2 separate regions of the Homo sapiens genome follow, and region 2 is linked to region 1. Evidence: promoter capture Hi-C in human tissues and cell types (Jung and others, 2019). All regions are on one chromosome and are shown on one strand. Each heading gives the region's core, a stretch centred on a gene start or on the middle of the fragment in contact. The rest is flanking DNA. Distances are from core to core; before and after follow the strand shown. Region 1 holds the start of A2ML1 (alpha-2-macroglobulin like 1). Region 2 has its middle 12 kb from the start of CLEC4E.

The links. Contacts are between HindIII fragments. The study calls those that stand out against the background at their distance.
Region 2: a contact is called between a fragment that was not itself captured here and the fragment with the promoter of A2ML1 in region 1, in 2 of the 25 tissues and cell types used here (H1 embryonic stem cells and mesendoderm cells).

Annotation. Positions count from the first base shown.
Region 1 is chr12:8,820,833-8,825,082 of GRCh38, reverse strand. A2ML1 (alpha-2-macroglobulin like 1) reads right to left here and starts at 2,462. Exons shown (of 36, transcript NM_144670.6): 1 at 2,370-2,462; 2 at 1,718-1,901; 3 at 1,201-1,363. The coding sequence starts at 2,431. The region is part of intron 1 of A2ML1-AS1 (A2ML1 antisense RNA 1); the gene reads left to right. The HindIII fragment of the contact is 7,738 bases long and covers 844-4,250 here.
Region 2 is chr12:8,527,001-8,531,250 of GRCh38, reverse strand. It overlaps a transcript of CLEC4D not described here. Among named protein-coding and RNA genes, the nearest start is that of CLEC4E, 12 kb to the left of the region's middle. The HindIII fragment of the contact is 4,465 bases long and covers 1-3,964 here.

The DNA of each region.
Region 1 (4,250 bases), core at 1,213-3,712:
AGTATATCAAAGACTATCTGTGCTGCCATGTTTATGGCATCAGTATTCACAATAGCCAAGATATGGAAGCAACCTAAGTGTCTATGAACAGATGATAAAAAATGGATTAAAAAATGTGGTACACATACATAATGGAGTACTATTCAGCCATAAAAAAGAATGAGACCCCATCCTTTGCAACAGCCTGAATGGAACAGGAGGTCATTATGTTAAGTAAAATAAACCAGACACAGAAAGACAAACTTTCCATGTTCTCATTTATTTGTGGGAGCTAAAAATTAAAACAATTGAAGTCGTGGAGATAGAGAATAGAATAATAATTTTTAAGTGTGTGGAAAAAAATAAGGTAAAAGGAAAAAAATTTTTTTGAAAGAGAGAGAGAGAACAGAATGATGGTTACCAGATGCTGGGAAGGGTAATGGTGGGCAGGATGAGGGGTGGGGTGGGAATGGTTAATGGGTACAAAAATATATTTAGCTAGAATGAATAAGATCTAGGGATCTTGTAGTTTTTAGCACAAAGAGTGACTACAGTCAACAATAATTTATTGCACATTTAAAAATTACTAAGAGAGTATAATTGGATTGTTTGTAATACAAGGAAATGATAAATGCTTGAGGTGATGGATACACATGTACCCTGATGTAATGATTACACATTGTGTGTGTGTATAAAAATATCTCATCTACCCCATAAATATATATACACCAGCTATGTACCCACAAAAATTTTAAATAAAAAAATAAAAAAAACCCAAACATAGTTTCTTTTCAGGGTGCCTGACTTTGAAATCTCAGAATGAAGTGCCCCTGTAAGGACGAATGAACAAATACAAAAAAAAAAAAAAAAAAAAAAAAAAACCCCAGTAGCTCAAGCCAAATGCCCTCAGTGCTTTCTTAGCCATTTACAAGCAGTTTGTTGTAAGGCCCAGCAACCCAGTTATACTTGCCAAATTCTATTCCAGAAGAAATGTGTACTTTTGTTTTAGATACACAAACTCAGTAGCAACCCCCACCTACTTCTCTTGCTTGTGTAGCGCAGCATGTATTCAACACTTGCACTACTTAATCCCCCCAGATTTTCCTCTCCTCTGCACTCCTTTTTTTCCAAAGCCTACTGTCAAACCACAAATCCCCTCTTTACCCCTGTGCACAGCGGTTTCCCCAGGTTTTAGTCGAACCCCAAATATGTGACTCTTACCTTGCTGCCCTGGGGTGTAGAGAGGTTTGTCAGTCTGTACAAAGGTGCCGTTCCCCTGCCTCTGAATTAGAACCTTTTTCTTCTCCTCAAAGCTGATGTTATTTCCAACTCCCGACACCCGGATTGTGGCCACTTCTTCTGTGCCACCAGCAGGAGGTGGTACCTGACCAAGAAAGGGGACTTCTGGGGAGGGGTAAGGGATTGGGGGAACAGAATCAACTGGTCTCAACCCAACAGTGAGTTAAAGGAAAGAGCTGAGTTAGATGGGGGTAGCAAGGATAGAGACATAAAACAAATTACCACGAGGAAGAATTAAGGTCAGGAACTAAAGGGAGAAATCCTAGGTCGAGGAAACCGTGGGTGAGTTATAGCCGGGGATTGAGGTTAAGTTGAGAAAAAATAGGTTTAGAGGCCGTGGCAAAAGATAACAGAAATTATACTTAAAGTAGATTATAGTGAGCCTAGGGAGGAGAATAGGCAAGTAAGGGATTCGAGTGAGGGCTGAGTCTGTGCTTACAAGAAAGGAGATACAATGTAAGTGCCTCTTCTTCAGTCCAGAGTATTCTAGCAACTTCTGGGTCTTGTCCTTGGTCTCCAGAGTAACCGTGAATTTAACATCACTGTACCCAGGGCTCAGGTCCAAACAAACCTTCTGAACGGAGGGGAAATTTAGCCGGGCTGGTAATGTCACCAGGTAGTTTCTATTAAAGGAGCAGAAGGATTTCAGGGCAATAATGATTCATTCACTCGAAAAATCCAGCACTCTCCTAAGCGCTCAGCAAGTAGCAGTGAATTAGACAGACCAAGCCCCTGCCTTCCTTATGCACCTCATTTTCTACAAGAAGCAGAGGGGCAACGACTCAGTGCACAGTCTTCAACTTCCGCCATCAGGAGGCCCTCACCGAGCACACATGCCTAGAGCACCAAGGAGGAAATTAGGCCTATTTCAGAAAACAGGGCACATTTTAATATTTATCTTTTTTAAAGCTTCCTCTTCATGCGTCAGCCTCCCTCTCTGGGTAAAGGATCAGTGGAACCAAAGAAGAGAAAAAAGGAGGAGGAAATTAAGATAAACCAAAGTTGATCTCCCCATCTCCATATAAATGTTTGAGAAAGTTAGGCGAAGAAGCCGCTGCCCTAATAAACCAATTCTGACACCAAGCACTCACGGAAGTTCTTCTGCAATGGCTGGTGATAGGGCCAACATTCCTAGAAGGAGCTGAGCCCACATCTTTGTGGGTGAGACAGATTTTTCCAGGGTCAGGGGCAGAGATCGCTCCGCGTAGCTTTATATACTAATTCCAGGTAGGGTGTGCAGTGATGACTGATGCTATAGTCAGTCACCTCCTGGCACCTGGAACACAGGAGGACTGTGTTCCTCCTTCTGTAACCACCAGGTTAGGTGGTGGACCAGGGTAGGGCCACTATTCACTTCTTTAAAGTTGTTTCTGCCTGGAACATCCATACTGGTTCAGCCAGTTTTGGGGGAAAACCAGAGCTGAGTATTCATAATGGTAAAGCTCTCAGAACATATTTTGAACTCCTCCCTTTTTTTCTGGTCTCATTCCAATTCCTGTTCTCATTTAATGTCCTTATTTTCTTTTATTATTCAATTAAGGTGTAGTTGGGAACACGGGTATGAGAACAGTTTCAATAGAAAAGCAGTAAACTTGGCCGGTCACAGTGGCTCACGCCTGTAATCCCAGCACTTTGGGGGGTTGAGGTGGGCAGATCACCAGGTCAGGAGTTCAAGACCAGCCTGGCCAACATAGTGAAACCCTGTCTCTACTAAAAATACAAAGAAAAAAAAATCAGCTGGGCATAGTGGTGGGTGCCTATAGTCCCAGCTACTTGGGAGGCTGAGGCAGGAGAATCGCTTGAACCCGGGAGGTGGAGGTTGCAGTGAGCCGAGATCATGCCACTTTACTCCAGCGTGGGTGACACAACGAGACTCTGTCTCAAAAAAAAAAAAAATTAATACTACTCAGTATTGTTGTGACTGTATGGAAATAGGGACACACACAGTCCTAGAGAAAATAGAATGTGGATAACTTTCTCATGGCAATTTTGTAATACACACCAAAGCCTTTGAGATTTGCATATTCTTTCACTCAGCAACTCCTACTCTGGAAATGTTTCTTAATGAGGAAAAAAAGGACAGCATGCATGTATGCACAAGTGTAACACTGAGTTTTTTCACACTGTTCTTTCTTTTTTTTCTTTTCTTTATTTTTTATTTTTTTGAAGTAGAGTCTCACTTTATCACCCAGGCTGGAGTGCAGTGGCACAATCTCAGCCCACTGCAGCTTTGACCTCCTGGGCTCAAGCGATCCTCCCACCTCCACCTCCTGAGTAGCTGGGACCACAGGTAGGCACCAACACTCCTGGCTAATTGTTTTGTATTTTTAATAGAGACAGGGTTTCACCATGTTGCCCAGGCTAGTCTCGAACTCCTGAGCTCCAGGGACCACCTCAGCCTCCCAAAGTGCTGGGATTACAGGTATGAGCCACCGTGCCCAGCCCACAGTGTTCTTTATGATGGTAATACTTAGAAGTCACCTAAAATATAAATTAGTCTAAGTGCAGTGGCTCATGCCTATAATCCCAGCTTTTGGGAGTCAGAAGCTGGAGGATTGCTTGAGCCCAAGAGTTTGAGACCAGCCTGGGCAACATAGTGAGACCCCGTTTTGTAACCACCCAATGGATTCACCTTGCTTGCTGCCTAGACAGAGCCGATTTATCAAGACAGGGGAACTGCAATGGCAAAAGAGTAATTCACGCAGAGCCGGCTGTGTGGGAGACTGGAGTTTTATTATTACTTAAATCCTTGAGCCTTCGTGGATCAGAGTTTTTAAAGATAATTTGGCAGGTAGGGGCTTGGGAAGTGGGGAGTGCTGATTGCTCAGGTTGGAGATGGAATCATAGAGGGTCGAAGTTAGATTTTCTTAATGTCTTCTGTTCCTGGGTGAGATGGCAGAACTGGTTGGGCCAGATGACTGGTCTGTGTGGTGTCAGCTGATCCCATGGAGTGCAGGGCCTGCAAAATAACT
Region 2 (4,250 bases), core at 483-2,982, 290 kb after region 1:
ATGACTACCCCTCAGAGAGTTAGATCCCAGACAGTGTAAAGGGGAGATTGTGGGGGAAGCAGGAGACAGTAAGGATGTCAGAACGCCAGTGGGTTCAGCAGGGCATCCTGGTGGGGGTTGGACTGTCCCAAAGTCTCAAAGCCTGAGCTAGAGTGAGGAGGACGCCCATACGTGGGGGTGGTTGAGCAAAGGTGTCTGAGCCGAAGCAGGAGGACTATCTAGGAGGGCCACAGGGCACCGGGCAGGGTGAGGTGGATGTCCACACAGGTCATTCAGCACAGGATGGAGAGGTAGAGCCTGAGCGGGTCAGCATATATGTCGTGCAACCAACTTTAAAATTTCGCACGGTTTACTCTTGGGTATCTTAGAATTGTATTGCCATTGTAAGTGTAATATTATTTTGTACATTTTGCAGAGTATTATATTGTTGATTTTTGTATAATAATAATTTATCCAGAAACACTGTTTAACTTTCCTAATTTTTTAAAACATTTTGTCCATACATTCCCTTTTATTTTCTGTGTAGATAATTATACTGTCTAAAACACTGAGCTATCCAGTACAGTAGCCACCAGCCACAGTAGACTATTAAGCACTATCCTAATTGAGATATTCTGTAAGTGTAAAATACACACTAGTTTTTTTGATAATTTGAAAAAAGAATATAAAATATGTCACTAAGAATTTTATATGGATTACATGTCAAAATGATAATATTCTAGATATGTTTGTTCAAATAAAATAAGTTATTAGAATTAATTTCACTTCTTCGGGCTTTTTTTTTTTTTTTTGCTTTCTTGATATAATTACTGGAAAATTTAGACATATGCAACTCACATTTTTGCCTTTCACTATATTTCCCTGGGACAGTTCTGGTCTAGAAATAATGATAGTTGTGGGTTTTTAAAACTCCCTTCCAGTTCTTTTGGTCATATTGAGCTGGCTAGGAATGCCAACATATTGTTGCATAAAGCTGCTATAGTTTTGTTCTTAAACTTAAAGAAAATGCTTCTAATGGCTTACCATTAAATCTAATAGTTGCTACAGGTTTGGGGTAGACATCCTGCAGAAAATTCCTTTCATTTCTTCTTTGTTAAATGTTTTAACACTAAGTGGTTTATTGATTTTACTAGATGATGCTTTAGCAGCTCTTTTAAAATGTTGATAAGATTAATTACATTAATAGATTTGCACACTATGTACATATATGCACATTGTTTAAAAAAACAAATTCTTCTAGAGGATTGTAATTAAAAATAGCTGTTTCCTGCCCACTTCTGATTCCCACACCTAAGTGGCAATCGTATTCAACCGTTTAGATGCTTCTTTTCTATTGAGTTCCATGTTTCTATTTCTATCAAAAGTTTATACTATAATTCCTTGATTTTTTTCAGTTTTAGATAATTTCTATGAGCTCCACACTAATGAAAACAAGAATAGTCTTCTTTCTCTCTCTCTTTCCCATCCCCCTGCTATCACTATATAATCATTTATTTAAAAATCAGTATTCAACATTTGCACTGGTATGAATATGTAAATATTATTCACAGCTGAACCATTTGCTGTATTCTTACTACATATTTTTAATTACATTTTGCTTTTTATGGAGTTAATATTGACATCTTTTCTTTTTTTGGAGACAGGATCTCACTCCGTCCCCAGGCCAGGGTACAGTGGCACAATCATGGCTTCATTGGAGCCTCGACTTCCTGGGCTCAAGCAATCCTCCCATATCGGCTTCCCAAGTAGTTAGGACTACAGGTGCACACCACCAAACACAGCTAATTTTTTAATTTTTTGTAGAGACAGGGTCTCACTTTGTTGCCCAGGCTGGTCTCAAACTGCTGGCCTCAAGTAATCCTCCCACCTTGGCCTCCCAAAGTGCTGGGATTACAAGCTTGAGCCACCATACAGGACCCATTTTTTTATATTTATCTAGCTTTCTGCGTACTGACATAATTCACCTTTTAACTCTTCAGAAATGTATATCACCTCTCAATTCATTCAAATGCATTCCATCTATCCCATAATTTTGTAGGGAAAAAAATCTTCCTTGGAAAATTTCCTTCCTTTCCCAATCTGAACGGAGATTGCTCTGGTGATTTGCTTCACAGCCATTACTTTGCTAAGTGTTATTAAAAAAGAAAATATTTTGTAATTTTAAGGTTATTTCAAATTATGTTGCAACAATGCAATATAAATGCTATTCACTTATAAGAACAAGATATAAATCAAAACTATATTGTTAAGTAAAAAATGCAAATGTTTAAGAATATGTAGATTATATTTCTATTCATATTTAAAATGTGGATTATATATCTATATATGTTTAGTATATAACATGTATGTAATTATATGTTTATTATGTATAGTACATAGTTTATATATAGTATATATTCTTATACACTTTATATGTAGTACATATAGTATAACCATTTATGGAAATGTAAATAAGAAACTGATAATCATAGTTACTCTGAAGAGGCATTTCAGTAACTAGAGTTCAGGTTAGAAGATTTATTTATCTTCTACGTTTACTAATGTTTTTACAGTTTGCCTTTTTAACACACATATATTACTGTTTCAAAAATGAAAACACTGCTTGAAATTTTTAAGAATTTTAAGCTTCTAGGACTACCATAATGTACTAAAATAATTAGAACCTATTTTTATGAAATTACTGTCTTTGTCTTGAAGAGATTGTGATGAGGTGCCATGAGAGTTCAGAATAGACTAAAAGAGACTATGGATGTGTATTAGTTCATTTTCTGCTGCTTATAACAGGATATCTGAGACTAGAAATTTATAAAGAAAAGAAATTTATTTCTTATAGTGATGGAGGCTGAGAAGTCCAAGGTCAAAAAGCTGTGTCTGGTGAGGGCCTTCTTGCTGGTAGGGACTCTCTAAAGAGCCTCAAGGTGGTACAGGGATCACACAGTGAGGGTGCTGCGTGTGCTAACATGCTAGCTCAGGTCCCTCTTCCTCTTTTTATAATGCCACCAGTTTTCTGCCTATGATAACCCATTAATACATCAACCCATTAATCCACTATTCTATAACTGGGAGTTAATTCATTCATGAGGATAGAACCCTCATTATCTGATTGCTTCTTAAATGCCCCACCTCTCAGTCAGTGGTGTTTTGAGGCTCCCACGGAAAAAAACCGCAATAAGTGAGTGGATCCTTCACCCGCAACCAAGATACCCAGGCTGTCTCATCATAATTGACTGGAAGGCTGGTGTGACCCACGGAGAGAAGAAAGAGCAGAGCGGTGCAGCGGCCCACCTGAGAGCCACATGGGGGAAAGGGAACCCCCTCCCCCGAGCCAAGGGAGGCAGTCGGTGAGCACACTACCCAGCCAGGGAAACTGTGCTTTTTCCACGGAACTGTGTAACTTACGGATTGGAAGATCCCACTCACAAACGCACGCCACCGGGGCCTAGCATCCCAACCCTGGAACGCGCGACTCTCACCGGCTCTCAGCTGGAATGTGCCAAGGCCTACTGAACTCCTGGGGGTGGGGGAGCGCGGGCGGAGGGCGACCAGCACTGGCTGTGGCTGCCTGCTGTCTAAGCCGTTTGCGCTCTTTGAGGGAGGGGCAGTAGCCAGCACTGGGACTCACAGCTGCTTAACATGCAAAGCTCCCTGGGCGGCGGAAGGGAAGCACCCATTTCTGTAGCTTCAGGCTGTGCTTTTCCCCTGCGGAGCCAGGGAGGCTGGAGAGCTTGGTCCCAAGATTTGTCCCCACAGCCCAACACACTGGCTGTGGCAGTCTGCGGCCAGAGTGCCTCTTCAGGCCTAACCTTGACACAGCCTTCCTCAGGGGGCAGGGCTTCCCTGCAGGATCTCCAAAAACTCCAGCCAGAGGCTCGGGGACAGAATTTGGTTCTCCGTGGGCCTGGGCCCCTAGGGAGAGGGGTGGCTACAGTCTCTGCAGATCAGCAGACTTAGCCTCTCCTCCTGGTAGTTCTGAGGAATCCGGGCAGCCCAGATGAGTGGGTTTAACCCCAGCAAAACACACCCTCTCCACCAAGGGACAAAGGGCTTCATTAATCAGGTCCTACTCCCTGTGCCACCCAACTGGGTGAGACCCTTCAACAGGGGTTGTCAGACACCCTATACAGGAGTGATCCTACTAGCATCAGGTTGGTGCTCCTGAAGGTCAGAGGTCCCAGAAAAAGGAGCAGGCACCCGTCTTTGCTGCTCTCCAGCCTCCTTGAGTGACATCTGCAAGCACGGGAGTGAATTGG